Regions from separate parts of the Homo sapiens genome. Here region 1 is linked to region 2. The links are contacts of gene promoters, found by promoter capture Hi-C in human tissues and cell types (Jung and others, 2019). All regions are on one chromosome and are shown on one strand. Each heading gives the region's core, a stretch centred on a gene start or on the middle of the fragment in contact. The rest is flanking DNA. Distances are from core to core; before and after follow the strand shown.

Region 1 (6,678 bases), core at 3,188-5,687, 35 kb before region 2:
AGACACTAAAGGTTTCTTAACCGTGGGCATAGAATTTATGGGGTCCCTGAACTTGCAAAGGAAAATAATTAAATACTTATTCTCACTCACCTTTAAGTGATACTTGGGATTTTCTTCAATTATGAATGCAGGCAGCAAATAAACCATAGTGGTATTAGCAGTGCCAATAGAAATGGAAGGTATGTTCATGTCATATTACAGTCATTACAGTGACCTGGAAAAGTCACTTGTGCTCATTTTTTCCAAATTCCTAGATCTTGTTATTTATTCCCATCTAGTTCACGCATTTAAAAAGGTTATTCTGAGAGGAGCGCCACAGGGTAACCAGTCTGTGTACAAAGTAAGGTTAAGAGTCTCCATTAGGGGTTATTTCATTTCCCTGTGGCTCAAGCAGCTCTGAGATTTGGTTTTGAGGGGGTCTGAGACTGACTTCGCCAAGCCCGGCTCCGGGTGTGCAGGGCCCCTCGGGCAGGGGGCCGCGAGAGGGCAGGCGTGTCCCAGCCTGTTCCAGCAGCTCGGGCTGCAAAGGGCCATGCTGCTCCCGGGGTCAGCGCCGCTCATACTGGGAGCGTACGTCCACCACCTAGTGGTGAAGCGCGGCGCTGCGCTCCGCAGCCTTGGCGAGGCCCAGGCCCAGGCCCAGCCCAGGTGTCACAGCCAGCCCAGGTGTCGCAGACAGCGGGCTGCTGTTCCTGTGCCCTCACTCCGACACCTGCTCCCAGGCCCCCCTAAACGGAGGAACATTGGCAGAGCCCCAAATTTAAATGTCCTCCTTTGCAACTCTCTTCGGGTTCAGGCATACATGGCCAGGATCACTTGGTGGGAACTATTCACCCATGTCATATTTAGGGGCGTTCCTTTTTTTTTTCTTTTATTATAAATGTAGTGATGGAGTCCCGCTGTGTTACCCAGGCTGCTCTCAAACTCCCGGCCTCAAGCGATCCTCCCACCTCAGCCTCTCAAAGTGCTGGGATTGCAGGCCTGAGCCACCACGCCCAGCTTTGATTTCTGAGCACAGTCAACACAACCCTCGTGAATTTTGCCACCCCATTATTATTTAAATATGCAATAACTTTCTTTAAGGAACTCACTTTTTACCTGAAATTAATTCATATAAAATGGAAAGTTTACATCCCTATCGCAAATGGAAAACCCAGTATACTTTGCCACAAATATAAGGTAACTATAAAGACAAATACAACAAAGACAAAACAATTCTGTTACTGCTAATCAGTTCCAGCTAGGCGTAAAGACTTAGTAGCATCAAACAAAGGCTTTCTGTTTGACATGATTGGAATGACTTGGGGGAAAAAACTGAAAAGGGGATGGCTTTTTTAAACTTTGGCATTCAATGTTATTACACGAAGATCATCCCACCATTTGGAGAACACTGAGGGAGATGAGGCTGAGTCCTTGGCAGCTTCTCAGTATTCAATAACCGCACCTTGGGAGGCTGGCAATGCAGGCCAGGCCCTGGGGTAGGTGTTCTGGATGCTGGGAGGGACAGGTTATTCATAGGCTCTACTTTCAATGGGCATTTTGGAGGACTTCTCCTTTCCTCCAAGTGGATCTGGAGATTCTCCTTCCTCAGCTTCAGTGGGGAAGCCACTTGGTGTACCCCCTGCATAAGTGGCAGGTTATTTTTGTAGTTGGGCTCAGGGAAGCTACAGAGCTGGGTGTGGTAGCAGATAGAAGGAGCAAGGCCGTGATCTTGTCTGGGTACTGGGCATCCTGCCCACAAGTTCATTGTGTGGACGACATATTTCCTCAGCAGGCACTTGTCTTGAGGTCTGTGCCAGGATTTGGCCCTCAGGGTTATATGTTGCTCTGTTTAAGACTTACCCATAGGATTTCCAAAGGACAGAAAGAATTTGAATACAGATCTGGTAGCTTAGAGGGCAAGCTAAGATAATAAGTGAGAATGCAAGCATGTGTGTGTGTGTGTTAAGAACTACAGAACACTTCACACATAAGAACTTTGTACAAACCTCTGCACTAAATAATGCAGAGCACCTAAATGAAATACTAGTATGGCTTCTAACAGCATAATGCTGTGTCCCTAGGATGTTACTAGAGATAAAGAAGGACATTTTGTAATATGAGATGGGTCAATCCACAGTCTACACACATGTCAAAACATATTGTACACTATGAATCCCAAATATCTGAGATAGGTCTCAGTTAATTTGGGAAGTTTATTTTGCCAAGGTTGAGGACATGTTCCCATGACACAGCCTCAAGAGATCCTGACATGTGCCCAAGGTGATCAGGGCACAGCTTGGTTTTATACATTTTAGGGAGACATGAGACATCAATCAGTATATGTAAGATAAACATTAGTTCTTCCCAAAAAGGCAGGACAACTCAAAGCAGGGAGGGGGCTTCCAGGTCACAGGTAGGTGAGAGACAAATGGTTGCATTCTTTTGAGTTTCTGATTAGCCTCTCCAAAGGAGGCATTCAGGTATGCATTTATCTCAGTGAGCAGAGGGGTGACTTTGAATAGAGCGGGAGGCAGGTTTGCCCTAAGTAGTTCCCAGCTTGACTTTTCCCTTTAGCTTAGTGATTTTGGGGTCATAAGATTTATTTTCCTTTCACATTTCCCCCCTTTTGTTTCTAAAATCTTTTGGAGAAAGCATTATCGGAAGAAAATGAGTCCCTGGTCTCAGGTTTCATCTGCTGTCTCACAGCTAAGACAGTTTATTCCTAGACAGATAAGTTCCAAGTTATTAGGAAAGCTCATTTTTAGCAGGTTCTGAAGTCTTATGTCCTATGAAGAGAAAATAGGAGAAAGAAGGGAGAAAAACAACAACAAACAAAAGAACAATCCTGCAAAACTGATATAGACCACCTTACTCTGTAGTCCATACATCAGTAGGCAGGTATAAAAGTGGCTTATGTATGTAAAAGGTTGCTGTTATTTTCTTTTGAAGTTTAAGTTGTCTAGTTTCAGTTTGCAGGGCTTTAAGAAAGCATAGCTTAGTTTTCAGTGATTTCAAATTAGGAAAAATGTAGGGAAAAGGAAAAGAAAGAAAAAAATGAAAACATTATTTTGGAGACTTGTAGCCAGGAAAAGTTAGAATTCAGTCCAGTCTGTAGAAAATAATAAAAACAGAAAAACATTAGGCAAGACTAGAATCTAACAACAGGTGTACTTTAGTTTTTGAAACAATTTTTCTCTCTCCAGTTTCCCATTTTTACTAAAAATCATGACAAATCATGGTAGGACCAATTTGCTTTATTATACTTGGCCAAATTATTTGTATAAAGTGCAGCTAGAATAATTATTCTTCACATAGGCTTTTTAAATTGGCTTTGATGGAACTTTGTTCCATAGAAGGAATCTCAGATATGACTTTTTTAAAGCCAAGCCCAGCCATGGATTTGTACCATCAAATACCTATGAGTTGGGTGAATTCCTCTCCCCTTGAGGTCTCAAGATAACTTGGGGTTCCCAGGCCAGTCAGAAAGTGACATTCATTTCTTATCACAGGTCAAGAACCGTGTACAGGGACTGTGTAGATAAGGTATGAGGCCAGTTTTCCCAAGGGGCTTTTATTGGCTCTAAAAGACAACTTTGATTCCTTAAAGGAAAGTAAACCATTCCAGTCAAAACTTGGTAAAATAACCAGTTGCTCCAGTCATGTCCTGTTACAAATGAAAACAGATTCTTATTGCACTTATGCAAATAACTATATAGCCGTAAGTTAAGAATACTTAAAATAGTTTCCAAATTCTGGAGAAATCAGGTGGAGAGAAACAAATATACTCCAAATTTTGTTGGTAGGAGTATACTTAGTTGTTAAAAGCTGTCAATAGCACAAAAGAAAAGTTTCCTTGACTCTGAAAATTGAAAGATCAGTAACATTTTAAGCAAAAAGTCAAAAAGATTACTTCAGTCATCTATTATTTCAGTCTTTGTAGTTAATTCCTGTTCTGCTTGAAATTCATGAACATTTCAGCTCTCCATGAGTCCTGAAAGTTTTTCCTCTATTCTGATGTCACCATCTCCAAAATTATCAGAAACCTCCATTCAGGAGCCCCTATTAGAGTTTTATAGTAGATTATAAAACCACCTTCTAAAGAGAACCAAAACAAGACAACAATTGTCCATGGATGACAAAATGTTTTAGGGCAGCTATAGTCAAAGACACAATTGACAAGGAAATCTGTTACCTCTGTGGCACACAAAAATTTAACATAACAATTATTATTATTACTACTAACTATGTACACTAAGTCATATCAGAATTATAGGAGTTCCCATAATTTTGGAACACATACCAATAACATATTTATACAAATATAGCCCAAAGAAAACCAAACCATTTCATGTTTGACAATGCTTCCTGTATAATTTTTATACCAAATAGGCCAAATATGTCATTTTTGGGCTTTAGGGAACCTAATATCTAAAAAGATTAATTAGGTCATAAAAAGACGTGTAATTTTATTTTGAAAAGTTTGTCAAATATCAAAGGTTTAAAACACTTGATATCACAAAATAGGATCACAGTTCATTGTAAAATAAGTGATTCATTTAACCAAAGTGATAACTCAAGGGTTTTCTAAAAAGGTGACAACCTTCATTCTTTGAGAGAGGAGACTTAATTTTCCAAACAATAAGCCCTAATAAAAATAGCATGAAGCCAATTAAATTTGTTTTTCAAAATTTTTAAACAATCTCTAAAATGTTAATTTTGACCATAACATATAACTTCCATAAGTCTTTTTATAGCCTTTATAACCTTTAATAAGGAGTTGGTTAATACTTCAAGAAAACCTTGTTAATCTGACACAGGGCCTCATGTGCTGGTCTTGCATCAGTATGCCTTTGACATTAATGGTTAATTTATAGAGAAACTGAACTTCCTTTATCTCTCAAAATTGGCCCTTACAATCTCATGCACCTGCCTCTTCTGTGATACTCCCTGGACCTTGAGGAGTTGAATAGCTTTAATTTCTGGCCCTGTGTCTTAGGAATGCAGTTTATTTTGATTGGCATCTTCTATCAGACCTGAATACGAAGCTTTAATTGCTGTCAGTGTTTAAGAGTTAGCAGGATTTGGTGTCCTTTTTAGACCCAGGAGTCAAAGCCCAGCAACTCAATGTTACAAGGACTTTAAAAGCACATACAGAAAAATACATGGAGGTAATAACCTTAATTGAAAAAAATTTTTGATCTGTTTTTTCTAAGCAAACCAAAACTTAATAATAATGGGATAAGAATTATTTGATAAGACATGAAATCTGTTAGGCCAGTTATCAAAAGGCCAAAGAAAAGACCTTCTGCAGTGCACAGAATATTATGTTGGAAGAAAACATTTCCTTTAGGCCTTGTTATGTAAATAAAGAAAGCCTTAAGTAGTCAAAATTAAAAAATCTTTCCCTTTTTTCCCCTTTTGCTGGCCACTTTTCTCCCCCCACCACACCACCTTTTATTGTGGGTGGGGGAATTTAGCCACTTCAAAGGCCTTGTTCCCCATAATTTGGAACTTTCCTTCAGATATGATCAAGTTGGATAGAGTTGGTCAAACCTGATAGGAAAAAGACTGAAACAACAACAAAAGAAACAAAAAAACAAACAAACAACAGAAAAAGTTAAGCGAAACAAACGATTGCACAACTTACATGATTGCTGAGCGCTCTAATGGTAAGGAGAAATTAAGACCAGCTGGTTGTTAATTTTAACTTTAGCCAAGGCAAACCCCAATTCAGTTATTTACGTAGGGATGGGTCTCAGGCCAAAGCCTGCTCTCTACCATCCTAGAAGCAGGAAAAACTCAAACTCGTCTTCCCTGTTGGGAGCGAGTTCAAACTCCATAAAGGAATTACCTGCCGTCCATTGTCATGGAAACAGGAAAAACTTGCCTTCCTTGTGTTAAAAGCAAGTAAAACTCCAAAAAAAAAAAAAAAAAAAAAAGGAGTTGTACAGAAAAATAAAGTTTAGATCTTGACCAAATTTTGGGAGATCAGGGATTCTCTGGAGGAGGTGCTTCTAAGTGGCTGCAGGAGGGAGGCTGGCTGGGGCTGCACACTCCATGGAGCCCATGGGAACCCCGCTCCTTCTGAGTTGGGGCAGGAGCTCCTTGGGTGCCGCTGCAGCCACCCAAACTGCAGACCTAGGCCTTCCTGTTCTATGGATCAGGAAGGAGGCCCACCCTCCTGTGCTCCCTGCTGTCTTGGCGGGTGTTTACTCCCATTGCCTGGCCTCTCTCCTCTCCTGGGGAGGGCACTGGTCTTGGAGCAGGGTTGGAGCAGAGCCCTGGGGCCTTGAATGGCAGCGGGAGGCAGAGTCCTGGGCAGAAGCAGGCGGATCCCCAGTAAGGTCCCACCTTCAGACCAGGGAGGGCCTGACAGCTGGGGGCAGGCTGCCAGTCACACAGACCAGAGTAGGGACTTGAAGCGCCTCCTCTGGGCCTGCCCATGGCTGCGCATCCACCAATTGGCATGCATTTCCTCCCCGCTCAGGTCCATAAAAGCCCTGGGCTCGGCCACAGCAGGGCAAAGACCAGAGGACAGAGAGAGGAAGGGGATAACTACCTGCAGAGAGGAGCTATCCTCTTTGCTGAGAGCTTCAGAGGCCTGCAGAGACATCTGAACAACCTGCCTACAAAGAGGAGCCACCCTCTTCAGAGCCTCCTCTCTGCTGAGAACAGCAGACAGCAGGATGACCAGTG
Region 2 (6,173 bases), core at 261-2,760:
AGGCTGCGGCGGGAGGATCACTAGAGGCCAGGAGTTCGAGACCAACCTGGCCAACATGGTGAAACCCCGTCTCTACTAAAAATACAAAAAAATTAGCCGGGCGTGGTGGCACGCGCCTATAGTCATAGCTACTCTGGAGGCTGAGGCAGGAGAATCGCTTGAACCCGGGAGGCGGAGGTAGCAGTGAGCTGAGATTGTGCCACTGCACTTCAGCCTGGGCAACAGAGTGAGACTCTGTCTCAAAAAAAAAAAAAAAAAGTGCACTATGGGAGGCCATGGCAGGCAAATCGCTTGAGCCCAGGAGTTTGAGACCATCCTGGGCAGCATGGTGAAACCTCGTCTCTACAAAAAATACAAAAATTAGCCAGGCGTAGTGGTGCATGCCTGTAGTGCCAGCTACTTGGGAGGCTGAGGTAAGAGGATTGCTTGAGCCCGGGAGGTCGAGGCTGCAGTGAACCAAGATCGCACCACTACTCTCCAGCCTGGGTGACAGAGTGAGACCTTGTCACGGGAAGGGAAGGGAAAGGAAGGGAAGGGGAGGGGAGGGGAGGGGAGGAGAGAAAAAGTAGATTCACCATTCGGTCCAGCAATCCCACCACTGGGTATCTACCCAAAGGAAAAGAGTCATTATATGAAAAAGACACTTGCACACGAATGTTTGTTTTTTGCAGCCCAATTCACAATCGAAAAGATATGGAACCAACTTAAATAACCATCAACCAATGAGTGGATAAAGAAAATGTAGTTGATATACACGATAGAATACTACTCAGCCATAAAAAGGAACGAAATGAAGTCTTTTGCAGCAACTTGCATGGAGCTGGAGGCCATTATTCTAAGTGAAAGTGATTCAGGAATGGAAAACCAAACACTGTATGTTCTCACTCATAAGTAGGAACTAAGCTATGAGGACGCAAAGGCATACAGAGTGATATAATGGACAATAGGGAGAATGGGAGGGGGTGTAACACACACACACACACAAAACCCTACACATTGGGTATAATGTACACTACTCGGGGGACAGGTGGACTAAAATCTCAGGACTTACCACTATACAATTCCTCCATGTAACCAAAAACCACTGGTACCCCAAAAGCTACTGAAATTTTAAAAACAAACAAATATTTGCACCCGAGGCGAGCACCTCATTCGCCTCTCGCTCTCTCGGGCACCTCCTGGAGCCAGAGGGTCCCATGCGGCCAGCTCCTCCGTGGAAGCAGTTGAAGTTATTCCAGCAGCGATCAGGCCACCGAGGATGTCCGCCCAGACAACCACCCGCGACGGGGAGACTCGCTCCGCCTGTGTCCGCCCACCCTCCTCCCGCGCGGGACACACCTGGCGGGCGCGGCACTCCCTGTCCGCGGCCACCTGGCGCGCAGCTCCCGGCGCCGGGCCCGCCCCTCGCGGCTCTGCCGGGGCTCCCGGCCGGCCAATGGGAGCGCGGTATGCAAATGAGCAGGTGCGGTGGCGGCCCGCCCGGAACGGCCGCGGGGCTCCCGGGATGTTAGAGGCGCTCAGGGTGGCAGCAGAGCAGACGCCGGGCTGCGCGCTGGGAGCTGCGGTCTCCGGCCATGGCCCCCGCTCCGCCCCCCGCCGCCTCCTTCTCGCCCTCCGAGGTCCAGCGGCGCCTGGCGGCCGGCGCGTGCTGGGTCCGCCGCGGGGCCCGCCTCTACGACCTCTCCAGCTTCGTGCGGCACCACCCGGGGGGCGAGCAGCTGCTGCGGGCCAGGGCGGGCCAGGACATCAGCGCCGACCTGGACGGGCCGCCGCACAGGCACTCGGCCAACGCGCGCCGCTGGCTGGAGCAGTACTACGTGGGAGAGCTCCGCGGGGAGCAGCAGGTACAGCCGGGCCGGGGCCCCCCACCCCAACCCAGGCCTCCGTCAGCCTTCCACTCCCGGGCGAGCCCCGTTCACTTGCCCTCTAGCAGGACCCAAGGTGACAGCTTCTGCCCTCCCTTCCCTCGCTTTCCCTCTCTTCTCTCCAGGCAACAGGTCACTGTCGTCCCCTCCAACCCCTCCTTCCTCTCTCCAGGAACTTGCTCTTCCTTTCCACCCTTACCGCCTGGCCCGCCTCCGTGCCAGCTCTCCCATTTCCCCAGCACCCCTCCTTCCAGCGTGTTCCTTCTGCAGCCCCTGCCCTCCGACAACCTGGATTCCCGTTTCTGTCCCCAGCCCCCCATACGCCTCGGCTTTCCTTCCTCTTCACTTATCGGCCTCTCCCTCTTTGCAACCACTCTCCGTTTCTGTTTGGATAATGGGCTCAACCTGTTCCCACCTCCCCATCCCACCTCACTTCTGCTTCAAAGAGGCACAGATCAGTAACTCTTCTCACTAGCTTGGGTTTCCTGGTGCCGCCCTGGCCTTGCCTGGGCCATGTCTGGGGTGGACTGTGTCCTCCAACCTCTCAGACCTTCCCTTATATTCTTGTCCTACACGCTGGCTTGGGACTCCAAAAGAGTGAAATGAAAGGCATGAGCCAGTTTTGCCAAGGAAAAGGGACCAGCACTTTGGACCAGACTGTGTGCTGAGCTGCACGCTTCTGTGCAGTACCAGCTCCCGATGGTATTTAAGTCCTTAACTCAACCTGGGGCAGGTTTTGTTATTCCCATTTCAGGATATGGAATCTGAGGCTCAGGGAGGCTCTGATTAATGCGCCTAAGGTCAAATAGCTAAATAGTGGGAAAGCCACATGTATCTGACTCCAAAATCAATGCTGGCTCCATCCCAAAAGTCTTCGGGTGGAGGAGACAGACCTAGTCCACAGGATTCCAGGTAGGCTCAGGCCAGAGGCAAAGCGACTCTCTTGATGTTCCCCAGGCCTGGCTCTGGGACTGGTATGGGGCCATCATGCTTAGATATACAGTAGTTCCCCCTTGTCCAAGGGGATACATTTCAAGACCCTCAGTGGATCCTTAAAACCACAGATAGTACCGAATCCTATATATGCTATGTTTTTTCCCATATATGCATATCTATGATAAAGTTAAATTTATAAATTAAGAACAATAGGAAGAGATTAACAACAACAATAATAGAATAGTTACAACAATATACTGTAATAAGAGCTATTTGTATGTGGTCCCTTTCTCTCAAAACATCTTATAGTACTGTACTCACTCTTCTTGTGATAATGTAAGATGATAACATGAGGCCAGGCAAAGTGGCTGACATCTGTAATCCTAGCACTTTGGGAGGCCGAGGTAAGAGGATCGCTCGAGCCCAGGAGTTCAAGACCAGCCTGGGCAACATAGGGAGACCTTGTGTCTACAAAAAATACCAAAATTAGCCGGGTGTGGTGGCATGTGGCTATAATTCTAGCTACTTGGGAGGCTAAGGTGGGAGGATCACCTGAGAGGTGGAGGCTGCAGTGAGCCATGATCATGCCACTGCACTCCAGCCTGAGCAACAGAGTGAGAGCTCACCTCAAAAAAAAAAAGATAATAAGATGCCTACATGATGGGTTGGAGTGAGGTGAATGACAGGTGTGGTGATGTGGCATTGGCTACTATTGAAAAGTAATTTAAAACTTATAAATTATTTCTGGAATTTTCCATTTAATTATGTTTTTGGACCCAGGTTGACCGTGGGTTACTGAAACCATGGAAAGTGAAACCGTGGATAAGGGGGACTCCTGAAAACCAACAATTGTCCCCTGCTTCTAACTCTTGCTTTCAAGATGAGCCCAGCAACTACTCTTAGATCTTTGGTTGAAAGGACTTAGCACCCACTGTTTCAGGTGGCTTTTCATTGGGTCATCCTGCCTAATTTCTCCATCATTTATTCAGTCATGGAACTGGTTCCTTAATGGGTTGACAGCACTGTGCTGGGTGTGGGGAGATATCAATGAACAAAACGAATTCGGTTCCTGTCTTCATGGAGCTAATGGGATAATGGGGAAGGAGAGGGAACACACAGATCACATGATAGTTGCTTAATTAATGGTGTATCAGAGTACGGATCTAGAGGGGAGGAGCATAGAGAGCCTTCTTGAGAAAGCGACATTGACACTGAGAGCTGATTGATAGGCTGGGCTTAGCCAGGTGGCATGTAGCAGGAAGAATATTTTGGGCAAAGGGAACAGCACGTGTGAAGGCTCTGGCAGGAAGAGCTTGACATAGTAAAAGACTGCAAATAAAACCAACGTGGCCAGAGGCTGATGGGCAAAGACAGGGATGTGGGGGGAGGCCAAAAGTCGGCCGGGGCCACATCACACGGGGCTTCGTAGGCTGTGGTCAGGATTTGGGACTTGACTCTAACAAAAATGGGAAGCCAGGTGAGCCCGGGAGGTGGAGGTTGCAGTGAGCCAAGATCACGCCACTGCACTTCAGCCTGGGCAATAGAGCAAGACTCCATCTTAAAAAAAAAAAAAAAAGGAAGCCAGGGAAGAGGTTCAGGCAGGGTTCATGGTCAGATTTGCATCTTTAGAAGAGGACGCTGGCTGCAGTTTCAAGGAGGAACAGAGACAGCCTAAGTGGGTGTGAGGAGATCAGGCAGGATGCTGCTGCATGGCTGCCACTGCAGTGGCTGTGACCATGGGGGGAAGGGGGATGAATTCGGGAGAGTCTCTAGACAATATGCTGGGACTCAGCATTGTGTGGTGAGGGCCCAGTTTAATCTGAGAGGTTGGTGTTTGGTGTCGGCTCATGCTGAAGGGTTTAGAAGAAGATATAAGAAAAACTGAGTGCAGGAGGCCAGGCACGGTGGCTCATACCTGTAATCCCAGGAATTTGGGAGGGTAAGGCGGGTGGATCACTTGAGGTCAGGGGTTTGAGACCAGTCTGGCCAACATGGTGAAACGCTGTCCCTACTAAAAATACAAAAAATTAGCCGGGTGTGGTTGTGCACTGGGTGTGGTGGTGCCCTCCCAGCTGCTTGGGAGGCTGAGGCAGGCTGATCACTTGAGGTCAGGAGTTCGACATCAGCCTGGGCAACACGGTAAAATCTTATCTCTGCTAAAAATACAAAAATTAGCTGGGCGTGGTGGTGCATGCCTGTAATCCCAGCTGCTCGGGAGGCTGAGGTAAGAGAATCGTTTGAACCCAGGAGGCAGAAGTTGCAGTGAGCTGAGATCGCACCACTGCATTCCAGTCTGGGTGACAGGTAAGATTTTGTCACAAAAAAATAGAAAAGGAAAAAGAAAAGAAAAGAAAAACTGAGTGCAGGAAATAAGAGAGGTTGAGACTGACAGGTTTGCGGTGGCTCATGGGCCCGCCCTGTGTTGTCACTGTATCCTCTAGAAAGGAGCCTTAGGGTGTGGCTCGTCCTCGCAACACCATCCTGAGTATGCTTACAGCCACCCCTGGCCAGCTGCCCTGGATGGTCCCACCTCCCAGCTCTGCTAACCACCTAGCACCATGGTTTGCCTTGTCTGATGCTTAGAGAGGGACCCAGGGACCCAGTCTCACATGTGCTTCTGACCTGTATGCTCATCTGTTGCCTAAGAGCCCGAGGGCGGGCCATGCTGCAGACATCCTTACTTCTGGGCCCCAACCTGAGCATGTGGAACAAAACTCAAAACAATGCATCTGCAGACGCATAGCCCAAACTTGACAATGGTCACACTAGCCCAGCCCTCCACTGGGCTGCCAGCTTCTGCCTTCAGAGTTCTAACCTAAGAACTAGTACAGGGTTGTCTTTAAATTGAGAGAGAGGAAGGCTGGGCACAGTGGCTCATGCTTATAATTCCAGCACTTTGGGAGGCCAAGGTGGGTGGATCACTTGAGCCCAGGAGTTCGAGACCAGCCTGGGCAACATGGTGAAACCCCGTCTCTACAAAAAATTAGCTGGGTGTGGTGGCTCGTGCCTGCAGTCCCAGCTACTCAGGAGGCTGAGGTGAGAGGATCACTGGAGCCCAGGAGGCGGAAGTTGCAGTGAGCCAGATCACACCACTGTACTCTCCAGCCTGGGTGACAGAGCAAGACCCTGTCTCAAAAACAAACAAACAAACAAAAAACTTGTGGGAGAGGTTGTCAAAGGAGAAATCTGGGGGTGGGATATCCTTTCAAAGAGATGCCTGGCTGGAGACAATTTCTGTTCTTCTCCCTAGCTAAGCCCTTCTAGCAAGCCTCAAGCTGCCTTTTGCACTTCCCTCCTCTCCTGCTGGACCAGGGATGCTGACACCCTTGTGGTTAGAGCCCCCTGTCTCTGGAGGAGCAGGAGGCTTTTGCT

The links. The method cuts DNA at HindIII sites, captures the fragments that hold promoters and counts their contacts. A contact is called where the count stands out against the background at its distance.
Region 1: a fragment that was not itself captured here is called in contact with the fragment with the promoter of FA2H in region 2 in 1 of the 25 tissues and cell types used here (IMR-90 fibroblasts).

The regions. Positions count from the first base shown.
Region 1 is chr16:74,807,176-74,813,853 of GRCh38, reverse strand. No RefSeq gene overlaps it. Among named protein-coding and RNA genes, the nearest start is that of FA2H, 36 kb to the right of the region's middle. The HindIII fragment of the contact is 7,167 bases long and covers 854-6,678 here.
Region 2 is chr16:74,770,157-74,776,329 of GRCh38, reverse strand. It overlaps FA2H (fatty acid 2-hydroxylase), which reads left to right and starts at 1,510. Exons shown (of 7, transcript NM_024306.5): 1 at 1,510-1,844. The coding sequence starts at 1,575. RefSeq lists silencers at 1,204-1,263, 1,274-1,403, 1,414-1,783, 1,824-1,873 and enhancers at 4,164-4,453, 5,249-5,328. The HindIII fragment of the contact is 21,235 bases long and covers 1-6,173 here.